Linked DNA regions of Homo sapiens: regions 1, 2, 4, 5, 6 and 7 are each linked to region 3. Evidence: promoter capture Hi-C in 16 types of primary human blood cells and fetal thymus (Javierre and others, 2016). All regions are on one chromosome and are shown on one strand. The core of a region is centred on a gene start or on the middle of the fragment in contact, and the rest is flanking DNA. Distances in the headings are between cores, read along the strand shown. Region 1 overlaps LOC105374846 (a long non-coding RNA gene). Region 2 overlaps RMND5A (required for meiotic nuclear division 5 homolog A). Region 3 holds the start of KDM3A (lysine demethylase 3A). Region 4 overlaps RMND5A (required for meiotic nuclear division 5 homolog A). Region 5 overlaps PTCD3 (pentatricopeptide repeat domain 3). Region 6 has its middle 34 kb from the start of CD8A. Region 7 overlaps IMMT (inner membrane mitochondrial protein).

Evidence for each region. Contacts are between HindIII fragments. The CHiCAGO score rates a contact against its expected background, and 5 or more counts as called.
Region 1: a contact is called between a fragment that was not itself captured here and the fragment with the promoter of KDM3A in region 3, in 2 of 17 cell types (fetal thymus and total CD8 T cells). The highest score is 6.8, in fetal thymus.
Region 2: a contact is called between a fragment that was not itself captured here and the fragment with the promoter of KDM3A in region 3, in 1 of 17 cell types (M2 macrophages). The highest score is 5.1, in M2 macrophages.
Region 4: a contact is called between a fragment that was not itself captured here and the fragment with the promoter of KDM3A in region 3, in 4 of 17 cell types (fetal thymus, naive CD8 T cells, endothelial precursors and 1 more). The highest score is 7.2, in fetal thymus.
Region 5: a fragment that was not itself captured here is called in contact with the fragment with the promoter of KDM3A in region 3 in 1 of 17 cell types (M2 macrophages); the score reaches 5.1 in M2 macrophages.
Region 6: a contact is called between a fragment that was not itself captured here and the fragment with the promoter of KDM3A in region 3, in 1 of 17 cell types (fetal thymus). The highest score is 6.3, in fetal thymus.
Region 7: a fragment that was not itself captured here is called in contact with the fragment with the promoter of KDM3A in region 3 in 1 of 17 cell types (M2 macrophages); the score reaches 5.1 in M2 macrophages.

What each region holds. Positions count from the first base shown.
Region 1 is chr2:86,802,256-86,805,486 of GRCh38, reverse strand. All of the region lies in intron 1 of LOC105374846 (a long non-coding RNA gene), which reads right to left. It also overlaps a transcript of CD8A not described here. Among named protein-coding and RNA genes, the nearest start is that of CD8A, 13 kb to the right of the region's middle. The HindIII fragment of the contact is 3,855 bases long and covers 1-3,231 here.
Region 2 is chr2:86,759,908-86,763,031 of GRCh38, reverse strand. The region is part of intron 4 of RMND5A (required for meiotic nuclear division 5 homolog A); the gene reads right to left. Among named protein-coding and RNA genes, the nearest start is that of CD8A, 29 kb to the left of the region's middle. The HindIII fragment of the contact is 381 bases long and covers 1,065-1,445 here.
Region 3 is chr2:86,440,112-86,443,234 of GRCh38, reverse strand. KDM3A (lysine demethylase 3A) reads right to left here and starts at 1,864. Exons shown (of 26, transcript NM_018433.6): 1 at 1,791-1,864; 2 at 1,002-1,217. The coding sequence starts at 1,187. RefSeq lists enhancers at 1,021-1,080, 2,071-2,150, 2,231-2,430, 2,252-2,795 and silencers at 1,281-1,330, 1,551-1,940. The HindIII fragment of the contact is 3,261 bases long and covers 71-3,123 here.
Region 4 is chr2:86,776,961-86,780,436 of GRCh38, reverse strand. RMND5A (required for meiotic nuclear division 5 homolog A) reads right to left here. Exons shown (of 9, transcript NM_022780.4): 9 at 2,396-3,476. Among named protein-coding and RNA genes, the nearest start is that of CD8A, 12 kb to the left of the region's middle. The HindIII fragment of the contact is 2,601 bases long and covers 850-3,450 here.
Region 5 is chr2:86,125,210-86,128,582 of GRCh38, reverse strand. It overlaps PTCD3 (pentatricopeptide repeat domain 3), which reads right to left. Exons shown (of 24, transcript NM_017952.6): 11 at 3,068-3,128; 12 at 2,703-2,788; 13 at 1,278-1,422; 14 at 592-642. Among named protein-coding and RNA genes, the nearest start is that of SNORD94, 9.0 kb to the left of the region's middle. The HindIII fragment of the contact is 9,969 bases long and covers 1-3,373 here.
Region 6 is chr2:86,823,110-86,826,273 of GRCh38, reverse strand. It overlaps a transcript of CD8B not described here. Among named protein-coding and RNA genes, the nearest start is that of CD8A, 34 kb to the right of the region's middle. The HindIII fragment of the contact is 4,501 bases long and covers 1-3,164 here.
Region 7 is chr2:86,145,246-86,148,484 of GRCh38, reverse strand. IMMT (inner membrane mitochondrial protein) reads left to right here. Exons shown (of 15, transcript NM_006839.3): 13 at 652-783; 14 at 2,288-2,417. Among named protein-coding and RNA genes, the nearest start is that of SNORD94, 11 kb to the right of the region's middle. The HindIII fragment of the contact is 4,515 bases long and covers 1-3,239 here.

The DNA of each region.
Region 1 (3,231 bases), core at 376-2,875, 360 kb before region 3:
AATAACAAAGCTCGTGGGTAAATGAAAACTCCTCCACAGCTGGTGTGAGTGTGGACTGGAACCATGACTTCGGAGAAAAATGTATCAAAAGCTATGGGACACATCTTTCGAATCAGTCATTTCTCACAAGGTTGCCATACTCCTCAAGTCATTCCTTTTCCAGGAAAACACCCTAGAGAAAATCTTGTACTTGGACTCTAGGGAATGTGTACAAGGATGTCCATTGTAGTTTAGCTTATAACAGCAAAACCCAGCCCAAAAGTACATCAACAAAGGAATGAATAAATGAAAGTGGCAGTTGTCATTAAACCTTTTTCCTTTTCTTGTATCACCCCAAAGTATGAAAGACTATGGACTCCTTCACTCATTAAAAAAAAAAATTTAGGCCAGGTGTGGTGGCTCATGCCTGTAATCCCAACACTTAGGAAGGCTTAGGCAGGTGGATCACTTGAGGTCAGGAGTTCGAGACCAGTCTGGCCAACATGGCAAAACTCTGTCTCTACTACAAATACAAAAATTAGCCAGGCATGGTGGCGTGTGCCTGTAATCCCAGCTACTCAGGAAGCTGAAGTAGGAAAATCATTTAAGCCCAGGAGGTGGAGCTTGCAGCGAGCTGAGATCGCACCACTGCACTCCAGCCTGGGTGACAGAGCGAGACTCTGTCTCAAAAAAAAAAAAAAAAAAAAAAAAAAGATTTAGCAAGGAACAGTGAATGGCTCACCCCTGTAATCTCAGCACTTTGGGAGGCTGAGGCAGGAGGACTGCTTGAGGCCAGGAGTTGGGGGCTCAAGAGTTGGAGGCTGCAGTGAGCTGTTATCACACCAATGCACTCAACCTGGTTGACAGAGCTAGACTCTGTCTCTAAAAAAAATAATAATACTAATTTATTGTGGCAAAATACACATAACAATCTTACCATTTTAACATTTAAGTGTACAGTTCAGTGGTATTAAGTTCATGCACATTGTTGTGCAACCTTCACCACCATCCTTCTCTCTAACTCTTTTCATCTAGAAAAACTAAAACTCTATAACCGTTAAACATAACTCCCACTCCTCCCTCTCCCCAGCCTGTCCCAACCACCATTCTACTTTCTGTCTCTATTATTTTGACTACTTTAAATACCTCAAATACATAGAATCATACAGTATTTGGTTTTTTGTGACTGGCTTAATTCACTTAGCATAATATCCTCAAGATTCATCCATATTGTGGCATGTGTCAGAACTTCCTTTTTAAGGCTGAATAATATTCCACTCTATGTATATACCACATTTTGTTTGTTTAAATAAATTTTATTGTGTATATATAAGGTATATACAACATCATGGTATAAGACACACATATTTAGTAGAATGGATACTATAGTGAAACAAATTGACTTATGCATCATCTCACTTAGTTACCCATTTATTTCCTCCTGTAGCAAAAGCAACTATGCTCATCTAGCAAAAATCCTGGAATAATATGCTATTATTAATTGTAGTCTTCATATTGTACTTTATTTGACTTGTTCATCCTATATGTTTGCTACTTCGTATCCTTAGGCCTACATCTGCCCATTTCCTCTCTCCTACTCCAATCTTGATAACCACTGTTTTATTCTCTATATATTTGACCTTTTTAAAAGATTCCACAGGCCAGGCATGGTAGCTCACACCTGTAATCCCAGCACTTTGGGAGGCCAAGGCAGGTGGATCATCTGAGGTCAGGAGTTTGAGACCAGCCTGGCCAACATGGCAAAACCCCATATCTACTAAAAATACAATTAGCCAGGTGTGGTGGCAGGTGCCTGTAGTCCCAGCTACTCAGGAGGCTGAGGCAGGAGAATTACTTGAACCCAGGAGGCAGAGGTTGCGGTGAGCCAAAATTGCGCCACTGCACTCCAGCGTGGGCAACAGAGTGAGACTCCGTCTAAGAAAATAAATAAATAAAAGATTCCACATACAGGTAAGATCGTGCAATATTTTTTTTCTGTGTCTGGCTTCTTTCATTTAGCATAATGTCCTCCAGGCCCGTCTAGGTTATGGCAAATGCTATCTCCTCCTTTTTTAAGGCTGAATTCCCTTGTATATATCCGTACCACAATTTCTTAAACCATTCGTCCATTGATGGTTGTCTAGGTTGTCTCCATATCTTGGTTATTATGAATAATGCTACAATAAACACAGGAGTACAGATACCTTGGTGAGGTGGTGATTTCATTTCCTTTGGGTATGAGCCCAGAAGAGAGATGCCTGAGTCCACATTTTGTTTATCTATTCATCCAGTAATAAACACTTGGGTTGCTACCACATTTTAGCTACTGTGAAAAATGCTGTTATAAAATGAATGTACTTCTTTACTCACTTTTAACTTGACATCAAACATTTTTCATCACTATAAAGGACATAATTTCCAAAGTAAATGTTGATTTTTAAAAAAGAAAACCTTATTCTTTTTAATTATTTCTAATAGCACATAAATAATATATCAATTTTGTTTCAACCGTCACTCATTTTTAAAATACAAGAAAAAGTTCTTAACTTTTGGAAATTTTTCATCACTCCTTTTTCTCCTTAAACTTATGAATTCTAGGCCAGGCGCGATGGTTCACACCTGTAATCCCAGCATTTTGGGAAGCCAAGGCAGGCAGATCACTTGAGGCCAAGAGTTCAAGACCAACCTGGCCAAAGGGGTGAAATCCCATCTCTACTAAAAATACAAAAATTAGTCGGGTGTGGTGGTGCACACCTGAGTAGCAATCCCAGCTACTCAGGTGGCTGAGACACGAGAATCACTTGAACCAAGGAGGCAGAGGTTGCAGTGAGTGGAGATTGTGCCACTGCGGTCCAGCCTGGGCGGCAGAGTGAGACTCTGTCTCAAAAAAATAAAGAGTAAAAACAAATGGACTTATGAATTCTATTCTACTTCCTCCATAAAAGTTTAATAGGTGCATATGCTTAAGGACCTTATATTGATCAATATTTCATACTTCTCTGCCAAAAAAGCACATGAGATGAATTTTTAATTTCCTGCAACCATAAGTTTCTAAATATTAAAAGTCTTAGATTATGTCATCATTGCGACTATTAATAGTGCACAATTGTCCTTTATAGCATAAATAAACTGCAAGTCTTCAAAATTAATGAACATTAAAAGTAACCTTTGGCCAGGCATGGTGGCTCACACCTGTAATCCCAGCACTTTGGGAGGCCGAGGCAGGCAGATTACTAGAGTTCAGGAGTTTGA
Region 2 (3,124 bases), core at 6-2,505, 320 kb before region 3:
CACTTTCGTTGCCCAGGCTGCAGTGCAGTGGTGCAGTCTCAGCTCACCACTGCAACCTCCGCCTCCCAGGCTCAAGCGATTCTCCCGCCTCAGCTTCCCAAGTAGCTGGCACCATAGGTGCACGCCACCGCACCCAGCTGTTTTGTATTTTTTTGAAGAGACAAGGTTTCACCATGTTGCCCAGGCTGGTCTCGAACTTCTGGGCTCAAGCCATCCTCCCGCCTTGGCCTCCCAAAGTGCTGGGATTACAGGTGTGAGCAATTGTGCTCAGCTTGAAAGTGTGATATATATATATGATATATATGATATATATGATATATATGATATATATGATATATATGATATATATATGATATATATATATATAAAAAAATATTTTTTTTTTTTGAGACAGAGTTTCACTCTGTTGCCCAGGCTGGAGTGCAGTGGCAAGATCTCAGCTCACTGCAACCTTCGCCTCCCAGGTTCAAGCCATTCTCCTGCCTCGGCCTCCCAAGTAGGTGGGACTACAAGCATGCACCACTGCATCCAGCTCATTTTTGCATTTTTAGTAGAGATAGGGTCTCACCATGTTGGCCAGGCTGGTCTTGAACTCCTGGCCTCAGGTGATCCACCCACCTTGGCCTCCCAAAGTGCTGGGATTACAGGCGTGAGCCACCATGCCCAGCCAAAAGAGTGATACATTTTTTAAAGTAATTTTTAGACACCAGAATGTTTAGCAGTAATGACTCTGGGATTTCAAGCATTATTTATCAACTGCTATACCATGGGCCATGACTAATCGGAACAAGGCACCAACTCTTAGATCAGCACCAGGGGTCTGAAACCACCAGGAAGACACACCAATCAATACCATATTACAGTGATTTCTGTAACAGTCTATGCTGTCCTATATTTTCCAGGTTTTCTGTAATGAACATGTATTAATTTTATACTTTAAAAGGCAGTAACTTTTTAAGCTAATGTAAAAGTAAAATTTCTTAACTTCCTTTTTTTAAATGAACAGGCCTATAGAGTAATTATAAATTACTTTTCCTGAAAGTTATGAATTATCAATTTAAGCTTTATAAGCTATAAACACCTGTACGCCACTTAACCTGGAGAGGCATTTATTTAGACAAATATAATTTTTAATGTACTAAATTTATGTTTGCACAGTTTCAAATTTTGCTATAAACAAGGCTATGAAATAAGAAAAAAACTAGCATTGCTTAATTCCTCCCCACTCCTTGCCAAGAAATATTTAGAAAAGTAAGTAGATACCTTTACAAAAAGGAACTGGGAGGAGGAGAGGACAACACAAAACCCAAATTCATAGAATACAAGTTTTCAAATTTCTTAAAAGTCGTATTTCTTTGCATCCTATTCTGAAACAATACTGTCCTCATTTAACTTCTTAATACTATATTAAGACTAAATTGTACAAGGCAAGGGACTTCCAAGCTTCTCCCTCCCTGGCAAAATGTCATTTTCTAAACCAAGGATGAGATACCCCACTTTTAACTCTCCCAAACATTGAAGCACATGTAAGCAATTAAGGTGAAATCCTCACCTGACATGATAGGACCTCTCTCTTATACCTCCAGGATTGTACCCAGAAACCCACATTTGTATTTTCTTGACCTCAATTCCCTGGCCACAGTTAACTGGCCAAATAAGCATAGGTTTTATTCAAAGTCACTCTCCGCAGCTGCCTCCTAATAAGAAAGTCAATCTATTTTTAACTCTATTCACTATTCTTCACTATTCTATGCCTCTTGCTAAGCTCTGGTATCAAGAGTTGCCTTCTGTGATGATCATTGTTAACATCCGCCTTAATGAATCCTTGACATCTGAGTACAAATTTCACAGCAGCATCCTTACTCACAATAGCAGCTTCCTCAGATAGCTTTAGTCAATTCACAACTTCTGAACATGATAAAAGCATCTTTTACTGGCTGTGAAGTTCTTCAATATCCTTGTAATTACCATCTTCTTTCAATAAGGCAACTATTATCAATTTGGCCCGAATAGTAGCCAAACTGATTCACACACACACACACACACACACACACACACACACACACTTCTCTCTCTCAATCCAAAGTAGAAGTAAATGTTCCATCTAAACCACAAGCATCTTTCTATTCTAGTGCAATATAAGTGAAAAGATGGTGAAGTGACTTTACCCTCGTCTTTATAGTGACAGGACTTTTCCAATATGCTTTGTACCATTAGCTTCCTGTAGGCTTAGGTCTTGCCCTAGCTTCATCTTGCTGTTGTCCTTTTTCAAATCTTTCTAATCACATTCAATTTCACTTCTAGAGGTTTTTCTTGTTGCCAAGTCCGTCTTCCAATTATCCATTTTTGTAAAATGTCACGTGGGTTTATCCCTGGGAGTTAAAGAGGTGACACAACCCACACAGCTGTTGCCTGAGAGTAACTGACAGTAGATGTGCAGTGATCAAGAGCGAAGTGACAAAACTGGTCATGACCATGATGCTCCTGTTATGTCCAGATGTGTAGACTGAAGAGCTGGCAGAGAAGTCTGTATTTTATACAATTGCTCACAGTTAATACATCATGGTGACTGAAATCTGAACTGTGTTGTTGGCAGCCAGGTGTTATTTAACTAAACTGTGGTAAAAACGAATTTATGTATGTTAGAAACCTGCAAAGACTGCCCATAGGTTCAATAAAGAATACAAGGGCTGGGTGCAGTGGCTTAGGCCTGTAATCCCAGCACTTTGGGAGGCCGAGGTGGGTGGACCACCTGATGCTGGGAGTTTGAGGCCAGCCTGATGAACATGGAGAAACCCCATCTCTACTGAAAATACAAAATTAGTCGGGTGTGGTGGCGCATGCCTGTAATCCCAGCTACTCAGGAGGCTGAGGCAGGAGAATCGCTTGAACTCGGGAGGCAGAGGTTGTGGTGAGCCAAGATTGCGCCATTGCACTCCAGCCTGGGCAACAAGAGTGAAACTCCGTCTCAAAAAAAAAAGAATACAAACAGGAGAGAAAGGACACAGAGATCTCAGTGGTAAGAGGTTACTTTATAAAGACAAAGAAGTTCCAGACTGATATAATGAGGAAAGACATAAAGTTTGAGAACCTGAGCAAGTCAGGGTGTCTGTGGCCCATTCTC
Region 3 (3,123 bases), core at 615-3,114:
TGATGGCCAAGTGAAGATTCTGAAACACATCTACTAGGCAGGGTGGAAATATCTTCTGTTCTGACAAGCTTCCTTCAAGTTATCACCACTTTGGAGTCTTTGTTAGGAACCTTTTTTCAGTTATTTTCGCACAAAGGAGTCTTTGTTGGTACAATGGCTTCCTCACTGCTTGTTCCCAGACAATCCTTTCACATCAATACTTCTATTAGGGAGCACAATCAGAATTCATCTGTCTTTGAAAAGATCTAACAGAAAAAGGTTCTGAGTGTCATAATGATTTAAAAAAAAATCACTGGCCGCACTTGTTCCCAATTCTCTCCCTCCCCTCATGCGTCCAAGTGCAGTATTTCTAAGCCAGTCCTCCAATATGCCATATATGGGACAGCTCCACCCCATCCCTCCATATATGGTCATATCCCACACCCACCCACCGGCTCATCACAGACAACCAGGAACCCACTCCTGCCCTGACCCACCATATACGGACAAACACCCATCCTAATACGCCAAACAGAACTTAAGCTCCTCCCTCTACACTCACTTCATTTTTAACAAGTCTGAAAGTTTTTTTAAAAGTTGAGTGAATAAATTAACAGGAACAAACAAACAAAACCAGCTGAAAGTACTTCCAAGCACTAACCTTCAATTCTTAATGACTCCAAACGTCACTTACAGGCCCTACCTAACGCTAACAAAAATACTCCTCCTCCTCTGCAGTAAAGATGAGACAGTCCTGGTGGGACACAGCACCGGCATTAATGAAGCGTGTCTGAACAACCCTAAGCCCATTATTAAAGCCAGGCAGCCAGGAGCTGTGGGCCAAACACAACTCGGCTCTATACAACCATTCCAAAGACTTTCAAGATCTAGCTTCCTGCACCTTCAGATCATATGCCAACTTTCTGGTCTCCGTTTTCAGAAAACGGAAGGAGGGAACCGATGGTCGCGTTACCACGGTAACTGCGAAACGTCCGGTGGCAGAGGCCCGGAGCCGCCTGTACCTTCAGATCCTTCTTGGTAACGTCGGTGTGGGAAACAGCTCGAATGGTCCCGGAGAGCCAGGGCCACTCGGCGACGCGCTCCACGTCCCAGCTGTCGTGGCTGCCATCGCTGCCGTCGGCTGCGGACAGACTGAGAAACCTCCTCCCCACCAATACCGGCCAACTTTCTCCGAGCGTGAGCACCATGGTTTCCACGCCTGCAGGAAGAGCTCCTCCCTGCAAAAACACAAAAACAAAATGCGACGGGGGCGGCCGGTGGGAGGGGGCCGGGCGGAGACAGCAGGGAGGGCGGGCGGAGGGCGCCGAACCCGCGCGAGGACGCGGCCCCGGGCGGACCCGCACCGAGCCCCCCTCCTGCGCCCTCCCGCCCCCCGCCGCCCTCCCCCGCCACACACCCGGGCCCCAGCGCCGCGTGACCCTCGCTCTCCCAAGTTTGGCTTTTCTAACAGCTCAAACGCAACCGCAGAGGGAGTGAGGGAAAAATTATCTGCGGCTCGAGTGGATTTGAAAGTGCTCAGCCCCCAGCCCCGAAAAGAAAAGGCCCCTGGTGCAGAGAGCCGGTCCCGGGCGGCTGGGTCCCCGCCCCGGGCGGCCCCACGGGGGAGGGTGGGCGAGCCCGCGATTCCGCACTTGCCCCGCCGCCCCGCCCCGGCGCCCAGCTCCCCGGCCCCGAACCCCGGGCGCCCGTCTCCCGGGCCTGCGCCGCTGCCAACGGGCGACGGGGCCGCGCGCTCGGCGCTTTCACCTTTCTCTCCCCTCTCCCCGCAGCCGAGGCCGCGGCGCTCTTACCCCGCCTCCCGCCTCCCTGAGTCACCGGCGGCAGCCGCCGTTTCCAGCCGCCTAGCCGACTCCAGCGCTGACTTGGTTCAAGAGCTCTCACAAGACACGCACAGCCTCCCGGACCCGCCCCCCTCGGAGCCGCTTCCGCCGCTCATTGGCTGAAACACAGGAGCTGGGCGAGGCTCCGGGGGAAACAGATCATCACCATTGGCCCCCCGGGCGAGGGCGGGGCCAGAGAAAAAAACAATTCCTTGGCTGCCTCCTCCCTTTCCCCTCCCCCTTCCGACTCCCGGGCGACCCCCATTAGGTTAAAGTACACAGAGAATAAGCGAGTGATCCCTCCGCCATAGGCCTATTCTTTCCATTTGTTGCCTCACAGTATGCAAAAAAAAAGTCCCGCGAAATCGGTTATCAACTTTGGGGCCCGGAGGAAAATTGCTGTGGCGCATAGATAAGACTGAATGGCGAGACCCTGAGCTATAAGTGCCTACTGGATTGTTCTTCAACCGCGTAGGCTGTCGACCGAAGATGAGCCTTCCACTTGGCGGAAGAATCTCACAGGAAAGGGTGAGGGCGGTGCAGGGTTAGCGGGGGAGGGCAGGGAAGAGAACGTGCGGTTTCAGGCGTACTCAGCTAGAGGGAGGAGCGATAGTGCTCTGGAGGCTCGTGCGCAGGCGCCTCGCCGAGCTTAGGCTGCTGGGCGAAATGGCTGCGGGAGGCGCAGGCGCACGTGGTACTGATCGTGGAACGTCTAAAGTCCGCCATTTTGAAGGATAAATGAAGAAAGGCGTGGAGTTACTGGATAATGACGTTCATTAAATTTAGAGCAAAAGAGACCTTTAAATACAATGTATAATGAGATTTTTTTTTCTCCAAAGTGGGATTGAGAAGGTATTCAGATACTTACAAAGAAATTTAAAGTAGTTGAAGGCCATAATGAATGATGGAAGAGATGAAAGAGAAGGTGACTTTGAAGGACAAAGGAGTTTAGAGGTGATTGTGTGCTCTGGACCTGAAGTATTTTGATTGAATGAAAAAGAAATGGAATGAAGAAATTGAAGATATGTTCATAAAGGCTAGTGTTTGACATTACATCACATTTAATCCTTAAGAAGAACTCATGCCTCCCATTTTACAAGCGTGGAAACGTATAATCAGAGAATGTTTGGAAACATATAAGGGATTATAGATGCAAATCAACTCTGGATGTTGATTTTCAATATACATATTCTGAATGTGATTTTAAGTTTTTAAAGTTAGTAACAAGAATTAAATTGGATTTATAATCTGTAGACCATTTAAAGGAAGGGGGCTGCTAAATGAGAAGAAAAAACCTATCCAG
Region 4 (3,476 bases), core at 901-3,400, 340 kb before region 3:
ACTTAGAGAACAAGTCTGCCTCATTCGCCAGTCTATCCGAGACCTCCAAGAGTACCCGAGACCAATACTCAATAAATACATTGACCTTAACTACCTACTGTCCTCCCTGGCTCTAGCCTTATCCCCTCCCCAACCACCCTTCATCCCATTGTAGCTAGAGTGGGCCTTAAAAATACACGATTACAGCTCTCCTTTCTCTTCCAACACCCTCTTGTTATTAACCTCATTACAGGACCTTGGCTCTACTTTTCTGTACTTTCCAGCAGTTTGTAGGCTGTTTCATCTCAGTGCCCAGCAGAGTGGAATTTAAAAAATCTGTTAGATGAGTGACTGCTAAGATGTCATACTACAACATGTTAAACTACACGTCTTTTTATTAAAGGATTCTACTTTACGTGCCAATGTTTAGCATGAAGCACTTTGTACTTTTCTAAGCTGAAAGGAAGTATAGCTAAGTAAATGCAACATTGCCTGGCACACAGGAGAGCTCAGTAATTAGTAGCTCTGGATTATACAAGCCTTCTAACATTGAATGTATCGCCACATTTGCTAGCATAGGAGGCTCACACAAGGGTATGAAACACCCTACAAGGAAAGTGTTTTTTTTTTTTAAGTACTTTCTATCACAGATATATTGACAGATTTCAAAGAAGTTTGGTAGGTAAGTGGACCACTGCATCATTGTCCCGTCATGCAAGGTTGTAAAAACTGGCTCATTAGCAGGTCACAAAATCAAATCAGTCTTGGTGAGCATTAAAAATAAAATCACACATTTGTAGCACTAAATATTGTTTTGTAAAATATTTCAGAATTCTAAATTTTGTGTACACAGGGTTATGCTATTAAGCTTCTTACTGGGTGCTGAAGGAAAAAGAAAAGTTAAGAAAGCCTATTTTCTGCTGGGATATTGTTTATTATCAAGTTTCTCTGCTGGGGGGTAAGAAGCATCAAGCTGTTTTGTTTAAGGATGCATTTTTAGTCCTTATTTTGTCATTATGAAAATTATTTTTCATCTTTGACACTCACCTTCCCCATTTTGGTGGAGGGGGTGGAAAATGCTTTTTACCATACTGCAAATACAGTACTCCCTCAATTACCTAGATGCTTAAAGAAATACACTGATTTTTAAAATAACTAGAGTTCAAAGCACACTAAATTTAAATTTTCTTGATGACTAACAGATTTACCCTTAGTCCTCAAGGGTAAATTCTGTTCAGTACGTGTGATCTTGACCTGCCACATTTAAGAGGGAGGATACTTCCTGAAATAGGAAGCATCCAGGACACTCCTTATAAGGGAAGCCCGTTTTCTCATGACCATGCAGACTTTGGTTCAGCAGGGTTGAGCTGAGGCCTGAGATTCTGCATTTCTCACAGGCTCCCAGGTGATGCTGATGCTGCTGGTCCATGGACCACACTTTGAGTCCTGAGGAGCCCAAATGCTGGAGGGAAAGGTGGTGAGACCTTGGCCTGGCCTGCCAGGCCTCTTCTATACTACCTGGGCCACTAGCTCCAACCTGACTGGATGGGACCACAAGGGTTTCCATAGGTAAGAAACATTCTAAAATCTCAGGTAACACTAAGTCTTTCTCTTAAAAAATATACAAAAGGAGTACAAATAAGTGCTTGGTCTCTACAACCTTGGCCTGCCATGGAGGACAAGGCAATTCAGTTTCTGGTCTTCCCTGGTAATGCTGACAGCACAAGTTCTACCCCCTCCAGCAGCCTGGACATCGAGCTGTTTCCGGGCTCCACTTTACCAATCATACACTCACTGCCACTCTGGTCAGTACACAGGGCAGGGTCCCCGCTGTGCACAGGAGGGGCGAGAGGGGGCAGCAGCCTGGAAACATTAAAACAATCCCCTACTCAGAAACTCGGGACTCAGCCAGGTGCAGTGGCTCACGCCTGTAATCCCAGCACTTTGGGAGGCTGAGGTGGGCAGATCACTTGAGGGTCAGGAGTTCGAGACCAGCCTGGCCAACATGGTGAAACACTGTCTACTAAAAATAAAAAAAAATTAGCTGGGCATGGTGGCACATGCCTGTAATCCCAGCTACCCGGGAGGCTGAGGCACGAGAATCGCTTGGACCCAGGAGGTGGAGGTTGCAGTGAGCCGAGATTGGGCTACTGCACTCCAGCCCAGGCAACAGAGTGAGAGTCTGTCTCAAAACAACAACAAAAAACAACTCGGGACACTGCTCAGTCACCTTCTCTTCTCACTGTTGGTGGCACAGAAACACAGTAAGATGGGGACAGATATTTTCTTAAATTCTTGACATGCAGACCCTTAGCAAATACAGACAGCAATTTTCTCTTCTCACAGTCAGCACCTCCCTACTCCCTCCCTCATACCTTTGTCACCTGGCACATTTATACAGACTGGTTCCACAAAACACTTTTTAAATGTGCATTTCTTTAATTTTTAAAAATATACACAGGAAAAGCCATGTGTTTTACATAGGAATACACACATTAACAAAGCATTTCTTATAGTTTTCCAAAACTCTATTATATCAGTCCGAAATTTATAAATTAAATATATCAGAATTCTTAAAGTTAAAATGAATTCCCTGAAACTACTGGATATGCTACTTTTTCCAAAATCAAATGAACAGAGGATATGGATGTGGTTTGTGTTAAATAAGGTTTATTGTTAGCTTTATTGCCTATAGTCTATAAGATGCAACTTTACTGTGCCTTTGCAAACAGGATACATTTCTTAAAAAATTGATCAAAATTTTCCATACATATAGCTCTATATGATAGATTACAGTGCAACACTATTCTCGTTACATAATTATAGAAATACTATAGAACCCAAGAGCACGGGGTAAGCAAAATAAATACAATCCTGAGCCATCTGAACAAGATGATTTGATGAATCCTTTAGTGTAAGTTTAGAAAACACAGAGAAGGAAAAAAATACATGCATACTGCAGTCATGAGCAAAATACATCAAACACCTGTTCCTTGCTAGGTGCAGGTGGGGGCAATGGTGAACTTCAGACACATGCACACTCACTCACACTCCCATTTTCTTCTGCTTCCCTCCCAGCCCCAACACATTCATTCCCGCCCCTTCCCAAAAAAAAGATCAGGCACTAAATCCTAGTGAACCCCACAACTGCCTTGCTGGAGAAGGTTAAGTGACTGCTAAAGTAAGAGTGTATGTAGGTCCTCACCCATAACATGAAACAAAGCATGTGCTGTAAGCCAATTCCAGCTGCTTTTGCCTCTTTGGAAGTAAATGAAGCATATGCCCACTACAGCTTGAAACTGCAGTGGAAATGTCTTGAAAACAAAATTTTGTTTCTCTTGCTATGTCTTGAAGTAAAATCAACAGTGGAAAATTCATCCTAAAACTGCCTCATCTGCTATTAAAATACATTTGTCATTCTATTTTTGGTATCTATTCAATTATAGTTCATTAAGAACGGTTCATGAAGCTTGTACCTGCTTATGGTAAACATCAGT
Region 5 (3,373 bases), core at 719-3,218, 310 kb after region 3:
GAATCTGCATCACGACACATGGTAGCCACTAGACACATGGCTACTGAGCACCAATGTGACAAAATAATTTATTATTTTACTTAATTTTAATTAACTGGCCACATGTGGCTAGTGGCTATGGTGTTAAATAGCACAGCTCCAGAGAACAAAAGGAATTTCAACCAAAATATATTCTACCCAATTCCTGTTTGTACAACATCACTGCCAGTACAATCCATAACCCTCTCCCCTCCAGCTCAAGTTTTAGACCACAAACAAGATTGCTACCCTCAAGAATAATTTTAGGTAGTAAGACCCTGTCCAAAAAAAAAAAAAAAAAATCAGCTAGGCATGCTGGTGGGCATCTGTAATCCTAACTACTCAGGAGGCTGAGGAGGGAGGACTGTTTGAGCCCAGGAGTTCAAGGCTGCAATGGGCAAGATCCTGTATCTAAAAAAACCACAACTTTCTGCTCAGGCTGTACAGGTTAATTTACAAATTCTCTCTTCTTAATTCATATGCAGAGAAGATAACTACAACAATTAATCACATAAACTCAAGAAAGCTGGTCAATTTTCTATATAAATTAACACAATTTAAGGCCATACATACCAGGTTGATCAAACAGGCGAATAATATGGTGATATGTTGCAAGCGAGGGTTCTCAAATTACCAGGTAGACAGAAAAAATAAACAATGAGGTAAAAACACAGCAATCCAAAACATAGTTTACTGAGACACACTGAATTAAAAACATATTGTTAATATTTAAGCAAAATATGCATTTCTATTCCTTTGAACAAAGTTATTTTCCAACTCATTAATGTAAAGGTAAAAAACTATCACAAAGACTGTATCACTTTTTGAAAGTCCAAATACTTATTAGTCACATTCTTCACTGAGAACAGTAAAATATATTGAAGTGAATTGATTCCCAAAGCAACTTTCAATAAAGTAATTAATGAAAAATATACAATACACTAGCACACACTTAGGTTCAAATACCTAATTATGTTGGGAAAATGTCATGAATTTAAAACTAGCTAACTCAAAGCAATCACTTCTCCTCAGATTCAACAGATCCATAAACAAAGTACCTAAAATACTAATGAACACTAAGATGATAAAGGCACTCCCACTATAATAAGTACATGTAAGTAAATGTGCCAAACATGGAAAGAAAATTTCCAACATATTATGTAAGCACAAGAATAATTTAAAGCTCTTTGCTTATGTAGCCCTGAAACCTCTGGCTGGCACAGTCTCTGTCCTCAGAGAACTCAAGGGCGCATCCTCACCTATTCCAATGGCTTTCATTTCACGTAAAACCTGTAAGGCTGGCGATCTTGCAAACACATGAAATCTTCGGAGACATTTCAGAATGGTATTAAAAGTCTGAAGATTTGGTTTCACCTTCTGTGCAACCATGTGTCTTAGCAGCTCCTAGGTGAATAAAAAACAAGAAGTATCTTTCATGCCTGGGTAATCTGTCCAATAATCTATGTTTCATACAAAGTAAAGAATTTAGCTTTCTTGCTTATGTTTAAAGCAGGTTAGTAACTATATCCCTCTTTTAAGAACTGTTTATTAATTAGCAGGTTCCATGATTCTGCCTTTTAAAGAAGCCTGCTAATTCAAACACCCACCCCACTTGATAGAGGTGGTCAACTGTCTTCAGTCTTCTACCTAGGAGAGTTTTCCAAGAAAAGACGCAAAAATAATAGACTAGTATGATATAAAAAAGTGGTTGGTTTTTTTTTTTTTTTGAGACAAAGTTTCGCTCTTCTTGCCCAGGCTGGAGTGCAGTGGTGCGATCTTGGCTCACTGCAACCTCTGCCTCGTGGGCTGAGGTGATTCTCCTGCCTCAGCCTCCTGAGTAGCTGCGACTACAGGCGAGCACCACTATGCCCGGCTAATTTTTGTATTTTTGTAGTAGAGACGGGGTTTCACCATGTTAGTCAGGCTGGTCACAAACTCCTGACCTAAGGTAATCCACCCGCCTCAGCCTCAAAGTGCTGGGATTATAGGCATGAGCCACCGTGCCCAGCCGTTTCTATTCTTAAGTTACTAGGCGAGAATCAATCCAGTGATTTCAACTTTTTGAAATTACACCTGATAGGATTTGACAGCAAATATGCATTACTTTGTAACAGAAAAACTATTATGAAAAATAAATGAATAAAATGGTCCAGAATTCTAGCTCTATACTCTCGGTCAAGCAACTTTTTCTTCTTATGTGCCAGACACAGCTGAGTCCCAGGGCTGCGGAAAGGGTAGTGAACAGGTAACTGCTACACAGTGACTGCCATACACATGCTCATAAATGCTGTCTCCAGCCCATGTACTTCTGTTTCTTTTTCTTTTTTTTTTTTTTGAGACGGAGTCTTGCTCTGTTGCCCAGGCTGGAGTGCAGTGGTGCGATCTCTGCTCACAGCAACCTCCGCCTCCCGGGTTCAATAGATTCTCTTGCCTCAGCTTCCCAAGTAGCTGGGATTACAGGCGTGCACCACCACGCCCAGCTAATTGTTTGTACTTTTAGTAGAGACGGGTTTCACCATGTTGGCCAGGCTGGTCTCCAACTCCTGGCCTCAGGTGATCTGCCCGCCTCGGCCTCCCAAAGTGCTGGTATTACAGGTTTGAGCCACCACACCTGGCCAGCCCATGTATTTCTGGTAAAGAGTATTTAAGCCCTATTAAAAAATAAACTGAGGATTCCTCCTTACCAGTATTTTACTCCATTTTTCCTCAAATTTCTCATTTATCGCACATACTGTTGCTTCAATCAATGCATTAAATGTGTATACATCAGCTGTAAAATAATAAAATGATAAAATTTGGGGTTGAAGATTAATCCCTAAATGGCTGAGTTTAAGGCAAAGCAGTCATTCCTATGTGTCCCTTGACTAATCACATGTCCACAAAACTGGAAAACTACTCTCCTCTCTGGATCTCTACTCTTGCTTCAATCATCTACGCCTCAGGAAAAGGTAAAGTGTAGGCCAATGACTGAGGCACGATCCAAAGCCTTCACACAGACAATTAAAAGAAGGAAATGGAGAAAGGGACAGAGGGGAGTTCTCAAACTCACCATGGAGTCTGTTGTTTAGTAACTCAGTGTACAAGTTTAATGCCTGCTCATAAGCTCGGTGCTGGAAAAGGAAAAATTAAGCATCATCAAATTCATTTACTTAAGAAGTCCTTGCACATTTCTGTCCTAGAGTTTGGTAATATAGCTCAGGCTCAATAGATCAGGCTCCTGTTCTCATGAAGCTCATACTCTAGTGCAGTGGGATTTTCTATCCACTGGTAATGCCTAAACATATTTTTATTTGTCACAACTGAAAGTGGGGGAGGAGTACACTACTCACATCCAGTGGGTAGAAGCCAGGGAGCT
Region 6 (3,164 bases), core at 52-2,551, 380 kb before region 3:
GGGGAGGTGTCACCGGCTAAACAAAAGGCAGGGGTGACGGCTCCTCACCCCTGTGGCCCAGATGGACTCCTCTGACAACCGGGGCAGAGCTAGGAAGACAATACAGACTCTCATGTTGCCTGCACAGAGCTCCCCACAAGACCACACTTCCTCCCGGGCTTTGAAGGGTACATCAATATAAGACAAATGATACGTTCTAAAAAACCGCCTGCAAACACGGGCACCTGAGCCTGCTTGGTCTGCAAATGTTTCAAGGCTCAGGGAGGCTGTCATGGATGTTTTCCCCCCGAGAGCTCCAGTGGCGGAGGTCTGCACATTCAGGTAGGAGCTCCTGTTCATGTCCGAATGGCACCCCTGTCTCCTCCTGGTGCTCTTTGGGGCAGCTGACACCATGTTGAGCATGCAGCCTGTTACAGTCAGGTAGGACAATAAAGAGTGGAGTGGCGGGCAGGAGGTGAGGCATGGGCAGTGGCCCTTTCTGAGGGGCTCCCATGCCCCCCTTAGAGCCTGCTGTTCAGACTTGGAGGTGGCAGCGAAGAACGGGTCCCAACACTTATCTTTGCTCATGTTGCCGCTGCATGCAGTTTCTGTTGGCTTCTTCGGAGAGGTGTCTAGTGCAGTTATCACCCATAGGAGCCTGAGCTGGCTGGAGCTCTGGGACATTCACCTGGCTCAGTCTTTTCCCACCTGAGAGGTGCCTGGGTGCTGCCTGCCAGGGCAGCCGTTGTCTGATTCCATCGTGATCACAGCAACCGCAAGCCAGCCACAAGCCTCTGTCTTTGTGTGCCTGGGGTTTACTGCGACCCTTGGGGATTCAAATGGGGTCAGATTGAAATGAGCAAAGAATCCTCTGAAGCCTGGACTCTTTCCCAAGGAAGTCAAAGGGAATGGCCAAGGAGGGGTTGGGGGATCCTGGAGGACGGTGATCCTCACCCTCCACTCCCACAGCCCCCATAGCCCCCCAGTAGGGGGGAGTCAGACAGAGCTGCCGCCATCCCTGGGACCACCTGCACACCTGCCCCTTTTATGTGGGGACGTTATGTAGGGCGGCCCCTCTCCAACCCCAGCAGCACACCCCCCACACCGACACCCAAGCTGCGTGGGACAGAACCAACAAGTTCACTTACCAAGGCAGATGCACCCATCACCCCTGCTCTTTTCCCAGCCTCCTCATGTGCCAGAGCTGCCTTAGGAGCTGTGGAGGAAACTCCAGGGCCCATATAAATTGCTTAGAGCTTTGGAACCCACGCAAGAGATCCATCCTCAGGAAATACTAATCTGTGCCATCATCATTATTTATTGGCATTAGTTATGTGTTCTAGAAATAACAATAGAACAACCTAAGTGGTTGACTATAAAGAGGAGTTTCAATAAGCTGTGGTCATTTACTTGGTATACAAGTATTCAAACCTTAAAAACGGTGGTTCTAAAGATTCTGGAAGCGATTCAGGGAAGGTTTATGCAATGAAGTAAAGGAAAAGCAGGATGTAGCACTGTGTTTATAGTAAGCAAGGTCGAGACAAGGCCTTGGGACAGAAGCACAAGAAAGCATCCCTGAGTGTGCTCTGGAGGGACTAGAACCTTCTTTCCACCTCTGATGGTGAGCTCTCCTCCCCTTCCCTCCACCACAAGGCCTCCCTCTCTCTTCCCTGACCCAGGGCACTGATGAAAAGCCCCCTCCCCACAGGACCCCAGGAAGGGAATGGGTTGCAGGTTTGTGCAGGGGGAGGCTTTTTCTCTTTTCATCTGCTCATTCATTCAATCACAGATTTACTCTTCATTCCCTTAGCTGCTCTTTGGCCTGGAGCACGTGGCTTCTTGCCCTTTGGCCTCCTAAAAATTAGAGGTAACAATTGCTTTCCTGTTGCATGTCCAGCACAACAGACATTGCACACACAGCCACCCAGCCCTGCACAAAGATGCAGAACAAAATGGGGGTTTCGGGCTGATTTGGCCACTTCCAGCTGTGTGCAAAGCAGCATTGATCTGAGCCTCAGCCTTGCTATCTGAGAAATGAAGCACCTCACAGTACCTGGCCCAGAAGGTCACATAGGTAAAAGTGTGGCAGAGGTTGTGCCCTGCATGAAGCATTGGCACTTGTTCCTCAGTGTTGACTGCAATCAGCCACAGCCCAGGGCCTCCTTCCCTGCTCTCAGGCCAGGCAGGGAGAAGAGGGTCCCTGCTCCAGCTCCCTGCTGCATCTAGAATGCACTCCAGCTCTCCCCAGTGCTGAGGCCTGCCATCTCCCTGCGTGTCCCCCAGCATACACACACACACACACATGCTGTACAAAGGCCCTTCCGTCCTCCAGCTCTGTGCCCCTCCTCTCTCTGCCTGGACCCCCCAGGGCTCCTCCTCAGTCTTCTCCAGGACCACTCCCCATCATCCTACAAACATGCAGCCTGTCCAGGAGGCCCTGGGGCGGTGTCTGTCACTGCACTTACAGCACTTCTCACTCTCCGTCATTCTTTCTTCTCTGTGTTTTTCTTTGTTATCTCTGTCCACTACACCGTCCCCTTGAGAGACCACATGTGCTTCTTGAGCGTTTCTTAAACCCTGCCTCGAACAGTGCCCAGCACACGTGTGGGTGCACAGTCAATATCAAATCAATGAGCAAATGAACATTATGTTTACAATGAAAACAAATCAGGGCCTTGGTCCTTATCCTCAGAGAGCTTTTTATAATGATTGTGCAGGCCGAGGCTTGTGGCTCGCTTTGTAATCTCAGCACTTTGAAAGGCTGAAGTAGGAGGATCCCTTGGGCCTAGGAGTTTGAGACCAGCCTGGGCAACATAGTAAGACCTCATCTCCACAAAAAATTAAAAAATTAGCCGGGCACCGTGGTGGGTGCCTGTAGTCCCAAATACTCGGGAGTCTGAGATGTGAAGATCACTTGAGCCCACGAGGTGAAGGCTACAGTGAGCCATGATCGTGCCACTGCAAACACCAACCAGCCTGGGTGACAGAGTGAGACTGTCTCAAAAAAATTAATTAAAAATTTTTTTTAAGTTTTAAAAAATGATTGTGCAAAAAGGTAAATACAGTATGATTCTACTTGCAGGAGGTACCAAGAGTGGTGTCTCTGAATTCGTCAGAGAAACTGAAAATATCATAGCGGTTACCTGGAACTGGGGGAGGGGGAATGGGGAGTTGGTGCTTAGTGG
Region 7 (3,239 bases), core at 267-2,766, 290 kb after region 3:
ACCCGCCACCACACCCGGCTAATTTTTTTTTTGTATTTTTAGTAGAGATGGGGTTTCACCATTTTAGTCAGGATAGTCTCAATCTCCTGACCTCATGAGCCACCTGCCTCAGCCTCCCAAAGTGCTGGGATTACAGGTGTGAGCCACCACGCCCGGCCAACTAATTTTCTTAATGATTCTTCAAAGTAGGCATTATTACTCACAAATGAGAAAGTGGAGATTTGAGAAGATAAATCATTTCCCCAAGGTCACACAGATGGTTGTAGTAAAGCTACGCTTGATTCCAAGTATATAGTTACTTTTTTTCATATCCTGGATTTAGTTATTTCTCAGAGGAGCATGTGATTCAGGAAATGGCAGTGTTTTATATGAGAGGCAGCCTGGTGATGTGGAAAAACCACAAGTTTGGGGGTGAGAGAGACCTTTGTTTGAAATCTGGTTTTTGCCACAGCTGTGTGATCTTGTTTGAATCACCTTCCAGGGTTTAGTTTTCCGTTTCACATGAGAAGTAGAAGTGTACACATGCCTGGCACATTAGAGGCGTTCAGGATATGGAAGCTGCTGTTGTCATGGTTGATAGTGGTCTTTCTGTTTTCCTAAAAGTATATGTGGAGAATTGAAAACTAATAACTACTATGTTTGGTTTCACAGATAGAAGAAGTCAGAGATGCCATGGAAAATGAAATGAGAACCCAGCTTCGCCGACAGGCAGCTGCCCACACTGATCACTTGCGAGATGTCCTTAGGGTACAAGAACAGGAATTGAAGTCTGAATTTGAGCAGGTGAGGACCTGGACTCCCTTCAGCCACACCCCTCTTCCTGACAGGATTAAGAGACTCTCCTTTCCTTTTAATGTACTCTGAGGATGTCGAAGATTTGGAAATCTCCTTGTATGTCTACAAAACTGCTTCTTTTTACATAATGGTGTACCTGTGTGTTCATGATCAGATGTGTTTTTAAAATATATATTCTAGTCATTTGGAATCTTCAGAGCTTTAAGGAGAGTTGGTAAAGGGGATTTCAGGAATGCAGACAGTAATATTTGACATGTGTATCTTCCTCCTATAGATGGCATGGTACTGCTTAGATTTTTATAACTGAGGTAATTTCCCAGAGAAGTTTTGAAATCCCAGTAAATTATCAGGATGCCTGTAATCATAGTTTCTATTCAAGAAATCATTTACAGTAATATTAACTTGTTACTTTGTCTTGCAAGAAGATATTGAGGTTTTCTAAGTAAAATCTTCCAGAGAATCGCGATGTATGTCAGTATGAAAAGGTATTTTAAATTCTATTTGGATATTTTTCTGAGAAAAATTAATGTATAAGCTCTTAAATACAAGATATTAGAATATAATTTAATCTAATTATTATGTTTAGGTTTGCAGTACAGATAATTTACTTTCTAAAGCTGACAATTTGTGGCTGAGCACAGTGGCTAACACCTATAATCCCAGCAATTTGGGAGGCTGAGGCGGGTGGATCGCTTGAGGACAAGAGTTCAAGACCAGCCTGCCCAACATGGCGAAACCCTGTCTCTATTAAAAATACAAAAATTACCTGGGCATGGTGGTGCATGCATGTAATCCCAGCCACTCCGGAGGCTGAGGCATGAGAATCGTTTGAATCTGGGAGGTGGAGGTTGCAGTGAGCTGAGGTTGTGCCACTGCACTCCAGCCTGGATGACAGAGCAAGATTCTGTCTCAAAAATAAAATACAGTTGGCAGTTTGTTTCTGACTTTAACAGCCTTCTCTCTTCTCTTGGTATGCCTCCTCTAATATTAGGTTCCATCAGTAAACCTGTAAAGAATTATATACATCGGCCGGGCACGGTGGCTCACGCCTGTAATCCCAGCACTTTGGGAGGCCGAGGTGGGCGGATCACGAGGTTAAGAGATCGAGACCATCCTGGCCAACATGGTGAAACCCATCTCTACTAAAAATACAATAATTGGCATGGTGATGCATGCCTGTAATCCCAGCTACTTGGGAGGCTGAGGCAGGAGAATCACTTGAATCTGGGAGGCGGAGGTTGCAGTGAGCCAAGATTGTGCCACTGCACTCCAACCTGGCAATAAAGCAAGATTCCATCTCAAAAAAAAAAAAAATATATTATATACATCAAATATGAGTCAGGACATTTTTGAAACTTTACACAAAATGTAGGAATTTCGTGACAACTCTAAGGCCCTCTTTGCTTCAGCAAGTAGTTGCTGGAAGATTACACAGTTACATGACATGCATTGAGTATCACTTTTTTCTGGAACTATTTCTGTTTTATTTCAGAACCTGTCTGAGAAACTCTCTGAACAAGAATTACAATTTCGTCGTCTCAGTCAAGAGCAAGTTGACAACTTTACTCTGGATATAAATACTGCCTATGCCAGACTCAGAGGAATCGAACAGGCTGTTCAGAGTAAGCATAAGCTATGTTTATCTTACAGATAATTTTCCTCAGCATAATTTATCAAAATAATTTTATAGGGAAAATGGGGTACATGTACTGACATCAGGACATAAAAATACTAATCACTCTACTTAATTGCAGTTTTTGCCATTAAAAGTAATGGCAAAATCTATATAACTAGAAATTTATACCTTGTATGACAAACACAAAATCACCATTTACAAGGCTATTTACCCAGTATCCTTTGGCTATGTCGCATGTGCCTGGGTGGTAAGGGCTAGGGGTCAGTGTGGTCCCATGCTTGCCTTCCACAGACTTGGTGGGTTATCTGGAGGTGGTGATTTGCCGAGTCCAACTACCAAATGGACAGTATTTATGCTGAGGCCTCCATGTGCCACATTGAAAGAGAAATGTCATGACAATGAGGGTATTAATAAAATGGGTTTTTTTAGGATGTTATGGAATCTTTTTTTGTCACATAACAATAAAAATAAATTCAATACTCATGGAATTTCAAGATCCAGTAGTCTGTTAAGTTCGTTTGAAGTCTCCCATTTCTTTTTTTTTTTTTTTTTTTTTTTTGAGACAGAGTCTTGCTCTGTCGCCCAGGGTAGAGTGCAGTGGTGTGATATCGACTCACTGCAGCCTCCGCCTCCTGGGTTCAAGCGATTCTCCTGCCTCAGACTCCTGAGTAGCTGGGAATACAGGTGCGTGCCACCACGCCTGGCTAGGTTTTGTATTTTTAGTAGACACAGGGTTTCACCATGTTGGCCAGGCTAGTCCTGAACTCCTGACCACAAGTGATCCACCCACCTCGGCCTCCCAAATTGC